Linked DNA regions of Homo sapiens: region 1 is linked to region 2. The links are contacts of gene promoters, found by promoter capture Hi-C in blood cells and fetal thymus (Javierre and others, 2016). All regions are on one chromosome and are shown on one strand. Each heading gives the region's core, a stretch centred on a gene start or on the middle of the fragment in contact. The rest is flanking DNA. Distances are from core to core; before and after follow the strand shown. Region 1 overlaps RMND5A (required for meiotic nuclear division 5 homolog A). Region 2 holds the start of KDM3A (lysine demethylase 3A).

Region 1 (7,349 bases), core at 2,571-5,070, 310 kb after region 2:
CCTTTATAAGATTGCTGTTTTGTATATGTAAAATAACTGGAAAAATTCTGAGGCTACATGAAAGAAGTTTGCATGGAATAGACACTGCTTATTATAAAGTAAAGGTAGTTGCTATCTTAAATTTGACTTGGAAGAGTGGGTAAGATTTAGAGCAGCAGAACAGTGAGATGAGATTTTTCCTTGAGGCTCGGAAAGGGCAAAACAGCAACTGAGAATATGCCTGACTCATGTTTAAGATGCTTCAAGATTGACTTGATTAGAGTGACTGCTCCTGTTGGGAATAGGGAAAGGTAAATGATGGAAGGCCTGAGAGGTGTGGATTTGATCAGATGATGAAAGCAGTTGAGGATTTACTTGACCTCATTAAGTAGGATGAAAACAGACTAAATAGTAGTCATAGGTAGGAGGATAATAGCTATCACATATTGAGTGTTGACCATGTTCCAGATAGTGAGCTAAGTGCTTTACATACATTTATATCTATCCCATGATGCAGGGACATTATTCCCATTTTATATATGAGGAAACTGAGACTCAATACCCAGGTATATAATTTGGAAGTAGTGGATCAAGGTTTGGAAAAAGTTTTTACTCAAGAATCTGTTCTTAAACACTGTGCTGTACTAGGAAATCACTGAGGCCATTGCAGAGCTGGTAATGTTGAAGGGGAACAATAATAGTTAAAAAAAATTTTAAACCTCATTATCTAAACAGATCTTTTGCCACTGGGTGGAGTATCTACATTGGTGAGGCAAAATGCTGACTGTATTAAGGAGTGAATGGAGTAATGGTATAAAAAAATGACATATAGAATATTTTAAGATAGTTCTGGGTGAGCAGTCCAGAACTGCCTTTTATGTTGGTATGTGATAAACAAGGTCTGTGTGTTGGGTAGAGAGGGACAAAAGGACTTAATATCCATTAAACTGTGCTAGCTAATCCAGTCTGCAATTGCATTTAAGTGCTTTTAAATTAATGAATATTAATATCTCTGCATGCTTTCGTGTATTTGTTTTTGTTTATATTTTCTAATAAGGATTCTTTTAAATACAGAAGCAGAAGGTTTGGTGGCAACCTGGCCCTCAGATTCAGCTTTGGTTAGGTTTGGCCTGGCTCTCAGATTCAGCTACTGTGTATTAAAGGTTTACTGATGGATGGATACTCATAGAGGTTTTCATGTACATTATTTACCTTTATCTTCACCAAAGACTTGTAAGGTCGAGATTATTGTCTCTAGATACAGATGTGAAAACTTAGATTTGTAAGTAACCTGCCTGAAGTCACAGAGTTGGGATTAAAACCCAGATTTTAAGACTTGGAGGAACCTTTCTCAACTGGAGTTCCTTGAGAGAATTCATCTCTAGTGCCCTGAGGGCACCCACTCTACATATGAATTTCTCTCCTTTCCATAGAATGGTAAGAGATACATATCATCCTTGGAAGAATTAATAAAATAGCCACAGAAAGGCAGATAACTAATAGTGGAGGGATAGGGATGCAAATGTGACAGAAAGGCCTGGCAGAGTGGTTTGGCACGTTACTCCCTCATTTTTTAAATAAAGCAATAACATAACAGTGTGAATCTACCTTTCTCTTAATGTTGATAACCAAAGAAGAGGTATAAATACCGTAAGGAGAATATGGAATGTCTACATCAAAAAATGCATCTACAAAATGCTGATTATGACACACTACCAAGTTTATTTTCCAGCCCTTGGTTTGTAAAGCACTGCTATCTGGTATATGCCTAAATATGGATTATTTCATCATAGGACAGGTGCCTCATTATCAGCTTTACTAGGTATTGTAAAATTTTCCCCTGAAGGGTTTATACCAATTTACAGCCCTACCAAACACCTATAACACTTCCTGCTTCCTCATTTCTCACCTATACCTGGTATTATCAGACTTCAAATGTTTAAAGATTAATCAGATGGGTGTGAAGTAGTATCTAGTTGTACTAATTTTGCCTTTCTTTGACCATCTTGAAGGTGGGGCATCTTCTCATGTTTAACATTAGGAATTTCCCATTTGTGCATTTCATGTTCTGTCCATTTTTTCTGTTAAGTTATCTTTCTTATTGAGAGGTGTGTGTTTGTTTCAAACTCTTCTGAATACTAATCTTGTGTGGTTTGTATGCGAAGTAGCTATCGTCTGTTAGTCTGAGGAGAACCAGAATCCAGGTCTTCTTACTCTGTTAAGTATCCTTTGCTGTCTGCCTCTCACTGCTAAACCAGATTAACTGGATGCTTAAAAGGGAAATTAATTCCTGGTAGGTGCAACAATAGCACATTTTGTTGGTTCATACACTAATTTTTCTTCAAAGTAGATGGAGAAGTTTCAAAATACATGTTAATACTATTAGGGAATTGGTACTTAGGAATTAAATACTGAGTTTTATATATATTGTGACCACTGTCTGCTCAGTCATTATAATTTTATAAAATATATTTGAGAAACGGATGGGTTTTTGACGGTAAACAGTGAAAGCCATTTCCGACTGATTTGTGTATTCATGATACGGCATGATACGGCCTGTTTAGATCGCACACTTTCATAATGATGTTGTATCAAAGTTATTTACTCCTCTTCTGCCTCAGCTTCTAGATTTAGTATGTCCTGGATTTCTCCTTCCAAGTCAGAACATCCTCTCCGGATGGACACACCCTTGGATGTGTGCTTTTTTGCTTTTGGTTCTTGTTTGGATCCTTTCTTCCCAATTAAGAACAGGATGCCAAAGCTTTTCTTTGCTTAAAAAATATGAAAAGAAAAAGTATAGTAAGACAGAAGATGTTAATTATAGATGGTATTTCTCTTCATTAGCCACCTCTTGGCTGGTTTGCAGTGCTGTGGATTTTCTGGACAGCCATGCAAATGAGCTTGGTTACCTAGCAACAGAAGCTGGAACTAATGCTAGCTCTGATGCAACAGTGAGTAAGAACCTGCAGTTATAACAAAAGGAGTTTGACAGTGTATTGCATTTCCTCAACCTCTATATATTTTATAATCTTAGCTTTAATTTTTAATGCATGTGACCAGAAAATAAGCTATGGAAGTTTACTTATCTACCTCAGTAGTTTATACTGGAAAATCAGAATGGTAGAAGGGAGCTCAGAAGTGTCCAGAAAACAATCGAATGCATTGCTTATTCATGCTTCTTTTCCAAGAGCAGCAAATAAGTTACGAGCTTGAATGTAGTTAGATTTTGAGTGTAAGGGTGTTTGACTTTTCTTACCTATGTAGTAGTGACCATAGTAAGCCTTAAGAAAATAGAGATACACATAGGGCATTGTTGTAAAACTTTGTAGCAAACCCAAAGAAAATTGTTTAAATATTAGACTCTTTTTGTAATTTTCTAGTTGATGAATATTTACTTTTAATATGTATATTAAGGAAAGAATTGAAGGGATTATTTTGTTTGATCTGAGCAAGTACTGTCAGATGGTAGCTTATTAAAATTCTGACCTAATATATATATTACCGGATAAAATTGTTTCAACATGATCTGTGCTTTGAGCTGACCAGCGTGTCTTCCAGCGTTGTTTTATTTTTCCCTAAGGAATAGGTACTAATAAATTTGTTGTTTGGGGAAAAATCATTAAATGAATAAGTAGAAACCTGAAGGTTGTATTTGGATTTAATGCAGTTGATAAGTTAGTGAGAGAACTTTCTTAATTCATCTCTCTATTCTTTCCTTATACTGTGCATTTAGACATTTAGAGAGTTATGGGCAGGTTCCTGAGTTTGTAATAAACTCATCTTCAGATCTTTAGAAACCCATTCCTTTATGCATTTGAATGGCCCTTTGGGAAGTGGAATTTGGGAGAGAACAGCGTTGATCAGCCTCTGAGCTCTACTCCAGAAGAGACAGAAAGCAGTACCATCTCCGGTGTTGTAGTTGTCATAGACAGCATAAAGATAAAATAATTTACTTAAAAATACTGATGAACTGTTATAAAATTAGCTCTCAACAGGCAGAATCTGATAAATAGAAATTAAACATAATCTTATACAAGCAGTTGTGGTTCTTCAGTGCTAGTTAACAGTTTTTTCATTATATGCATGGATGCTCTTGCTTTAGCATCTAGGTACTTTGTATTATTTCTTTTTCTTTCTTTTTTTTTTTGAGATGGAGTCTTGCTCTGTCTCTCAGGCTGGAGTGCAATGGCGTGATCTCGGCTCACTGCAACCTCTGCCTCCCTGGGTTCAAGCGATTCTCCTTCCTCAGCCTCCCAAGTAGATGGGATCACAGGCACCCACCACCACGCCCAGCTAATTTTGTATTTTTAGTAGAGACGAGGTTTCACCATGTTGGCCAGGTTGGTCTTGAACTCCTGACTTCAGGTGATCCTCCCACCTCGGCCTCCCAAAGTGCTGGGATTACAGGAGTGAGCCATCATGCCCACCCCGTTATTTCTATTCTTTAGGTTAAATACTTGGCTAAGAAAAATGTCTGTGAAAAGGAAATGAATAAAAATTAAGACTGACAATATTCTTGGTTTTTTGTGTTTGTTTTGTCTTGAGTGATTCCAAACCTTAATGTATGTATTCAGTTTTAGGCTACTGTTTTCACATCTAGAGATAGGGTAGATAGCTGTTTATAGGGAGAAAAATGTGCTTAATTTTGGAGAAAAGCACTCCTGCATTGTGATTGTAAATAGTGGGTTGTTTGCAGTTGCTGTTGCTGGTTACTTACTACCTGTTCTTGTACATCATGTAAAATAATCCCATATTGGTTGGACTGTATATTTAAGCAGTGGTTGACTAGGATTGCAATTTTAGTTAAATCTAAATGGCCTTGTCTAGTTAAGTTTATATATTTTTAAAAAGAAATGCAAAACATTTATTAGGGAGCAATGCCTATGAAAGATAAAGGGTGCTGAAGTGGAATTAGGCTGGGAAAGCTTTCACACTGTGATGTACGTTTGCTCTTCTTTCACTCTTGATGTTTCATGTTCCTTCTGGTGTCATTTTCTTCTGTCTGAAGACTTTAGCAATACTTTTAGAGCAAGTCTGATGGCAGTAAATTCAGTTTCCCTCCGTCTGAGAATGTCTTTATTTCATCTTCATTCCTGAAGGATATTTTCACTGGATATAGAATTCTAGGATGACAGTTATTTTCTTTCAGTACTTGACAAATGTCATGCCACTTCTTTCTGGCCTCCATAGTTTCTGTTGAGAAATCTGTAGTCATTTGAATCATGGTTCCCCTGTAAGTAACATGTCACTTTTCTCTGGCTGCCTGCAAGATTTTTTGCTTTATCTTTAGTTTTAACAGTTTGAATGTGAGATGTTTGGGTCAGATTTCTTTGAATTTGTCCATGTTGGAGTTCACTGACCTTCTAGAATCTGAGATTTATGTCTTTTGCTAAACTTGGGAAATACTCTTCAACTATTTTTTTCTGTACCATACTGTTTCTCTTCTCCTAGTATTCCGATGACACACACGTTAGAGCTTTTGTAATTTTCCCACAGGTCCCTGAGGCTCTGTTTTTTTTTTTTTTTTAAACTGGTGTTCAGATTGGATGAATTCTATTGATTTTCACTGACTTTTTGCACTGCCACTTTGCTTCTGCTGTTGAAAAATTCATCCAATGAATTTTTTATTTTGGTTACTCTATCAGCTTTTTCCTTGCTAAGTCTCTCCCTTTGTTTCAAGATTGTTTGTATTTTTATAATAACTGCCCTAAAGTTTTGGATGGTTCCAGCATCTCTGTCATGTTGGCATTGGTGTCTGTTGATCATCTTTTTCCATGTGAGTTGAGATTTTCTTGGTTCTTTGTATGCCAAGTAATTTTGCAGTATCTTGAACATTTTGAATATGTATTATAGTACTCTGGGTCTTGTTTAAGTTCTGTGGAGAGTGTTGGTATTTTTGTTTTAGCAGGCAATCAACCTTGTTGGATTCAGGCCACAAGTTCTAACCAGTCTTTTCTGGGTTGTAGTTTCAGTGTTAGTTTTGTTTCTAAAGCCATTACAGTTATTTAGATTTGTCCTGTGTGTGTAACACCTGGTAGCCAATATGGGACCTAGGAATTAGGTCTATTCCCTAGTTCAGTTTTCAAAATCTGTAGTATGCTGTTTAGAGTCAGGACCATGCATGTATAGCTCAAAGGCAAACCCAGAGGTGTAGATAAACCACTCTCTTAACTAGTTGGCCATGCCCCCACAACCACTTTCAGCCTCAATACTGCAGTTGTTGGGATGTGCCATGGATTATTATGTTGATAGGCATATGTGTTTTCTCCTTTTTTCCCCTCCCATTATAGACAGTGCTGCAGTGGGCATGCTTTTACAGGTCATCATTGCATTCCTCTAAAAATATTGCTGCATATAATGCCTAGAAATCAGTTCATTCGCTTGATTTTATTTTATTCATGGACACCATTATTAAATCTACTTTAAAAAAACATTATCTAAAAATATACCTATTTACTCTTCTAGCATGACAAGTTTTAGAAAGGAGCAGTGGAAAAATTCCTTCCTTTGGGACGCTATAAATTGCAGTTGGGTTCTTATTGGGGTATCTCAGACTGAAACAAAGACCATTTTTTTCCTGTTAAGTGGGGTGAAAATAATCTATTTATGATTCCCTTTCTCTTTCTTTTCCCCAGAATTTTGATTCTGACATTAGCAGTGTGGGAATAGATGGCTGCTGGCAGGCAGACAGCCAAAGGCTTCTCAATGAGGTGATGGTGGAGCACTTCTTTCGACAAGGAATGCTGGATGTGGCTGAGGAGCTCTGTCAGGTAACAGTGTGCCAACTGGGAGGATATGAAAAAGAAACAAGGGAACTCCTTGGAGTTTATAGTATTTGCAGGGTGGGGTTTTGAGTCTTCCTCTAGCTATAGATAGATTTTTAATATTTAAATTATCAGAGATGACCTCATTTTACTAGGAGTATTTTGGGGAATTTTTTAAGTGGCAAAAATTATAGTTCTAGAACTTGTTATCCAGATCATTTTTTTCTTGTTCCTGTCCCAGAAGGTTAGTCCCAGTTCATGAATCAAAGGGCGCAAAAGCGATATTCTTTCTTCATGTCCATTTTTGATATAGAAGGTTAGTATAGCAGACAAGAGGAAAGGGACAAAAACATTGATGTTTGTTCTTCTGTTCTAGCCCAGCTTAAACGATTTTATCAAATGAATTTCCAGCTAAAATTTTTTACTTCGCATTAGCAGCATTTGTCTTTTATTTCTATCACACATGAGTTAGAACTCTACAACAGTTTACCAATACCATGTAGTCATAATAGTAGTAGCTGCCATATATTGAGTGCTTACCTTAAGCCAAGCCCTGCCTTTATTCCTTGCTGCAATCCCATGAAGTAAAAATTATTGTTTCCATTC
Region 2 (6,600 bases), core at 434-2,933:
AATTGTCAAATTTGTAAAATTTCTCATCGTTCATAGCGTCACCTTAGGATAGGCCATGTTTTTAGATTCATAACAGTTCAGGAGACCATACTGTCTTCATGGACTTTATCTTTAATATAAAATCCTTTCTCTTTTGATACTTTTAATTGTATTAATATTGCTATACTGCTTTCATTTGGCTACCATTTGATTAAATATTTTAGCCCAGTATTTTCAAGCTTCCTGTTTTGTAAGCATTTGCTTATGGTCAATTTATAGCTGGATTGTCCTTTTATTCCCAACTGTCTTTTAAAACTTGTGAGTGAAATTAACCCATTTACATTTATTGTAAATACTGATGTTTGGACTTTTCACATGAAAAACATTTTTACCATATGTTCTGGTTTCTTTTGCTTATCTCGTTCCCATTTCTGCCTTCTTTCAGCTGGATAGGTTTTTTCTTCTCATTTAGCAGCCCCCTTCCTTTAAATGGTCTACAGATTATAAATCCAATTTAATTCTTGTTACTAACTTTAAAAACTTAAAATCACATTCAGAATATGTATATTGAAAATCAACATCCAGAGTTGATTTGCATCTATAATCCCTTATATGTTTCCAAACATTCTCTGATTATACGTTTCCACGCTTGTAAAATGGGAGGCATGAGTTCTTCTTAAGGATTAAATGTGATGTAATGTCAAACACTAGCCTTTATGAACATATCTTCAATTTCTTCATTCCATTTCTTTTTCATTCAATCAAAATACTTCAGGTCCAGAGCACACAATCACCTCTAAACTCCTTTGTCCTTCAAAGTCACCTTCTCTTTCATCTCTTCCATCATTCATTATGGCCTTCAACTACTTTAAATTTCTTTGTAAGTATCTGAATACCTTCTCAATCCCACTTTGGAGAAAAAAAAATCTCATTATACATTGTATTTAAAGGTCTCTTTTGCTCTAAATTTAATGAACGTCATTATCCAGTAACTCCACGCCTTTCTTCATTTATCCTTCAAAATGGCGGACTTTAGACGTTCCACGATCAGTACCACGTGCGCCTGCGCCTCCCGCAGCCATTTCGCCCAGCAGCCTAAGCTCGGCGAGGCGCCTGCGCACGAGCCTCCAGAGCACTATCGCTCCTCCCTCTAGCTGAGTACGCCTGAAACCGCACGTTCTCTTCCCTGCCCTCCCCCGCTAACCCTGCACCGCCCTCACCCTTTCCTGTGAGATTCTTCCGCCAAGTGGAAGGCTCATCTTCGGTCGACAGCCTACGCGGTTGAAGAACAATCCAGTAGGCACTTATAGCTCAGGGTCTCGCCATTCAGTCTTATCTATGCGCCACAGCAATTTTCCTCCGGGCCCCAAAGTTGATAACCGATTTCGCGGGACTTTTTTTTTGCATACTGTGAGGCAACAAATGGAAAGAATAGGCCTATGGCGGAGGGATCACTCGCTTATTCTCTGTGTACTTTAACCTAATGGGGGTCGCCCGGGAGTCGGAAGGGGGAGGGGAAAGGGAGGAGGCAGCCAAGGAATTGTTTTTTTCTCTGGCCCCGCCCTCGCCCGGGGGGCCAATGGTGATGATCTGTTTCCCCCGGAGCCTCGCCCAGCTCCTGTGTTTCAGCCAATGAGCGGCGGAAGCGGCTCCGAGGGGGGCGGGTCCGGGAGGCTGTGCGTGTCTTGTGAGAGCTCTTGAACCAAGTCAGCGCTGGAGTCGGCTAGGCGGCTGGAAACGGCGGCTGCCGCCGGTGACTCAGGGAGGCGGGAGGCGGGGTAAGAGCGCCGCGGCCTCGGCTGCGGGGAGAGGGGAGAGAAAGGTGAAAGCGCCGAGCGCGCGGCCCCGTCGCCCGTTGGCAGCGGCGCAGGCCCGGGAGACGGGCGCCCGGGGTTCGGGGCCGGGGAGCTGGGCGCCGGGGCGGGGCGGCGGGGCAAGTGCGGAATCGCGGGCTCGCCCACCCTCCCCCGTGGGGCCGCCCGGGGCGGGGACCCAGCCGCCCGGGACCGGCTCTCTGCACCAGGGGCCTTTTCTTTTCGGGGCTGGGGGCTGAGCACTTTCAAATCCACTCGAGCCGCAGATAATTTTTCCCTCACTCCCTCTGCGGTTGCGTTTGAGCTGTTAGAAAAGCCAAACTTGGGAGAGCGAGGGTCACGCGGCGCTGGGGCCCGGGTGTGTGGCGGGGGAGGGCGGCGGGGGGCGGGAGGGCGCAGGAGGGGGGCTCGGTGCGGGTCCGCCCGGGGCCGCGTCCTCGCGCGGGTTCGGCGCCCTCCGCCCGCCCTCCCTGCTGTCTCCGCCCGGCCCCCTCCCACCGGCCGCCCCCGTCGCATTTTGTTTTTGTGTTTTTGCAGGGAGGAGCTCTTCCTGCAGGCGTGGAAACCATGGTGCTCACGCTCGGAGAAAGTTGGCCGGTATTGGTGGGGAGGAGGTTTCTCAGTCTGTCCGCAGCCGACGGCAGCGATGGCAGCCACGACAGCTGGGACGTGGAGCGCGTCGCCGAGTGGCCCTGGCTCTCCGGGACCATTCGAGCTGTTTCCCACACCGACGTTACCAAGAAGGATCTGAAGGTACAGGCGGCTCCGGGCCTCTGCCACCGGACGTTTCGCAGTTACCGTGGTAACGCGACCATCGGTTCCCTCCTTCCGTTTTCTGAAAACGGAGACCAGAAAGTTGGCATATGATCTGAAGGTGCAGGAAGCTAGATCTTGAAAGTCTTTGGAATGGTTGTATAGAGCCGAGTTGTGTTTGGCCCACAGCTCCTGGCTGCCTGGCTTTAATAATGGGCTTAGGGTTGTTCAGACACGCTTCATTAATGCCGGTGCTGTGTCCCACCAGGACTGTCTCATCTTTACTGCAGAGGAGGAGGAGTATTTTTGTTAGCGTTAGGTAGGGCCTGTAAGTGACGTTTGGAGTCATTAAGAATTGAAGGTTAGTGCTTGGAAGTACTTTCAGCTGGTTTTGTTTGTTTGTTCCTGTTAATTTATTCACTCAACTTTTAAAAAAACTTTCAGACTTGTTAAAAATGAAGTGAGTGTAGAGGGAGGAGCTTAAGTTCTGTTTGGCGTATTAGGATGGGTGTTTGTCCGTATATGGTGGGTCAGGGCAGGAGTGGGTTCCTGGTTGTCTGTGATGAGCCGGTGGGTGGGTGTGGGATATGACCATATATGGAGGGATGGGGTGGAGCTGTCCCATATATGGCATATTGGAGGACTGGCTTAGAAATACTGCACTTGGACGCATGAGGGGAGGGAGAGAATTGGGAACAAGTGCGGCCAGTGATTTTTTTTTAAATCATTATGACACTCAGAACCTTTTTCTGTTAGATCTTTTCAAAGACAGATGAATTCTGATTGTGCTCCCTAATAGAAGTATTGATGTGAAAGGATTGTCTGGGAACAAGCAGTGAGGAAGCCATTGTACCAACAAAGACTCCTTTGTGCGAAAATAACTGAAAAAAGGTTCCTAACAAAGACTCCAAAGTGGTGATAACTTGAAGGAAGCTTGTCAGAACAGAAGATATTTCCACCCTGCCTAGTAGATGTGTTTCAGAATCTTCACTTGGCCATCATCTTTGCTTTTTCTTAAACTATGTTCAAATAAAGGCAGCAAGTTTTAGCATTGGCAGTTGATTATATGTTGATTTCTGAAACACTGTTCATTTGAACACTTTCAGGGTGACAGTGTATGCCCAAACTGGTATTTATCTGCAAAGAGTTGTAGGAAAGGGGTATGCTGTTAGGCATGTTTTAAAGCTTCAGTGTTGTGCCTTGTCTCTTGTTGAAAAGGAGGAGTGACCGAAGAGCATTTAACCATGTGGCAAGCACTTCACAACTATGATCTCGTTTAATCCTTACAGCAGTTCTTGGGGGTAGGTACTAATATTGCCCCCATTTTATGGATGAAACTACTGTGCCTGAGGGACGTTAAGCATCTTGCCAAGGACACATACGTAGGAATTGACATAGCCTGTATTCTGTCAAACCCAGGAAGTTTTACTCCAGAAGCTGCCCTCTTAACCATCAGGCCAGTGATCAAGAGCTATGCCACAGCAGAGCTCCTGTCATAGGCTGTGAGGTTTGGTTTTTTCCTGCATTCGGCTCATTCTCCTGCCAAATCAGGTTTTGATGTTTATAGAGATAATATATTGTGGTGCAAGAATGGCCAACCTTTTTGCTTTGGGCTTATAACCTTTCTGTAAGCTGGGCTTTGTGTACTAGATTTCAGTCGTGCTTGTTGTGGTTTATTTCGCCTGCCAAATAAAATTTTCTCTAGTGCATTTGTTTTTATGTGATTTGAATGGAAACAAGATTTTATTTAAACTTTCCAGTCTTTAGTTCTTTGGCAGATGTTGAGAGACTAGGCGTTCCCTTCCCTTCTGTAGCAGCAATTGAGGACCTGTTGGGTTAGGCAGGCAATCTAGGAGGAACTTCACATGTATATATTTTTTAAATCTCCTCCCTCCGCCCCCATCCTTTGAGGAGGTGGTGATATCTTCATTTTCAGAATGAGGAAATAGATTTAGGAAAAGGAATCTTGTCCAGATTTGCATAATTAGCTGCGGAGGGAGGCTGCGAATCCAGATTGGGCCCAGTGTCTTCTCCACTGCACTTTGGTGCCTAACCTGAAGACAACTGGGAATTCATGTCAAAAACAATTTTGGCTAGGTTGGATTTTTGCCTTACTTGTACACATCACAACTCAACCCTCATGTAAGATGCCAATCTTCTGTCTCTTTTCTAGTCATGATTTATCACTGCATTCCTTAGTTGAGTAGCAGATGTTAAGTTTGGGGGCCATGTTGCATTAAAAAAAACCAGGATTTTATTTTACCTTGATTTTAGAGTTGGGGGGTCTTGTTGCCCAGGCTGGTCTGGAACTCCTGGGCTCAAAACACCAAAACCAATTTGTGCTTGGTGAGATGGAGGCAGGAACCAAGTAACTAAGACCATGCTTACACTAGGGTTTAGGGGCATTAAGTTTTTGGGGGGTGAGATGGGGGTGGGGCGAGGGGCTGAGATGAATGTCAATAAATAACATTCAAGTAATATGTAACCATTCTTCTATTATTAGGACAAATACAAGTCTGTCTAGACTGGCTTGTTTAGATAGTTATGGATGATATTAATGAGGCCAAGGCTTGTTAACTTTGTTTCACCTAGAGAGACTTTATAACAAAACCACTTACTTAGATGACAAAAAGAGAATATGTCTAGTAGTTGGTTACAGAGAAGTTAAGGTGAAGACATAATAACAGTGGATAACTATGATTAAATGGTTACATCAGGATTTAGCAAAGAAAAAATAATCATTAAATGGATATTATGTGGCGATTACTTCATTTAATCCTCACAAATATCCTAGATGGTAAACTACATTTTTAGTGTCAAAAACTGAGGCTTAAAGAAGTTAAATAACTTGAGTTTGTCTCCAGACCTTAAACACTAGGCTTTAATATTCAGGTAGAGCGAGGTTAGAGCATTTTATTTTGCTAGCCTCTATATCCCTAGCACCGAGAACACTGCTTGGCATGTAGTGTGTGCTCAGCTATTTGAATGGATAAGTGAAGGAATCATAAAATTATTACCTCTCCTATGGAGAAACAGTTTAGAAAGAATCTACTGATGAGGCAGTAGCATTCTCTTCATCTGGAATAACAACAGATCTTAATTAGATGTGGCTATAAAGACTGCTTTAATCTTATTTTTATCCTGCTCTTTCTACTTGAGTATGAAATGAGTTGCTTCCTAGCTGATTTTGTTCACATAATTATGCGTGGTGGGAATGCCCTGCTTCCTTAACTTGTCCTTTTTTCTTTGAAGCCTACCTTTTTCTTGAGTCTAATGCCCTGCTTCCTTAACTTGTCCTTTTTTCTTTGAAGCCTACCTGTTTCTTGCGTCTAATGCCCCTTCTTAGTCCTTACAGGTGTCCTTAGCAGGCAATTAGTCCTTGCCATCTGTATGTACCATTTCCTGCTATTGTCAGCAATTTGGTGCCTTGACTAATGCCTAGCCTTTCATTTTTGCACACCATTGAAACTTTAATGTTAGTGCAATCTGCTGCCAGTCAAGCCATGTAAAATGAAAAAACTTCTAGCACGGTATAAAAACTGTTTACCCCTTTTAATTGAATGCTGGACCTTGGGATCTTCGACAAACATTTAGGCATAAGAAGACATAAGTGGAAGCACAAGGAATTAATTTCTTTGTGGAGTAGTGAATTAAGTGGTATCCTGCATTGTAGTGCAAGGCATAAAATAGACATGTAATTAAAAATTTGTCTAAAAACCATATCATTCTGTGCTCCTGCTTTTAAACTTGGAAACATTTTCATTGGTGTTTCTGATGGCCTTTATAATCATATAGTCAGGTGAGATGAGAGTATGGTAAGAGTGGGAGATTTTGATATTAGTTTATTAGATACAATATTAATTCATATATCAGAAAGATTTTCTGTTGGGGAAACATTGGCTTGAAAAATCTGAAATATCGAGCATTTGGTCAAGGTGTTTCATAGGTACTAATAAGGTACACATTTGCAAAATACCCATTAAAAGAAGAGCAGATTTCACAATTATAGGTAGTGAATCATAGTTGACTCTGGCCTTTGAAGCCACACAGTGTA

The links. Contacts are between HindIII fragments. The CHiCAGO score rates a contact against its expected background, and 5 or more counts as called.
Region 1: a fragment that was not itself captured here is called in contact with the fragment with the promoter of KDM3A in region 2 in 7 of 17 cell types (endothelial precursors, erythroblasts, M1 macrophages and 4 more); the score reaches 9.9 in endothelial precursors.

Annotation. Positions count from the first base shown.
Region 1 is chr2:86,745,282-86,752,630 of GRCh38, forward strand. It overlaps RMND5A (required for meiotic nuclear division 5 homolog A), which reads left to right. Exons shown (of 9, transcript NM_022780.4): 3 at 6,615-6,749. Among named protein-coding and RNA genes, the nearest start is that of RNF103-CHMP3, 28 kb to the left of the region's middle. The HindIII fragment of the contact is 2,164 bases long and covers 2,739-4,902 here.
Region 2 is chr2:86,439,688-86,446,287 of GRCh38, forward strand. KDM3A (lysine demethylase 3A) reads left to right here and starts at 1,684. Exons shown (of 26, transcript NM_018433.6): 1 at 1,684-1,757; 2 at 2,331-2,546. The coding sequence starts at 2,361. RefSeq lists enhancers at 753-1,296, 1,118-1,317, 1,398-1,477, 2,468-2,527 and silencers at 1,608-1,997, 2,218-2,267. The HindIII fragment of the contact is 3,261 bases long and covers 217-3,477 here.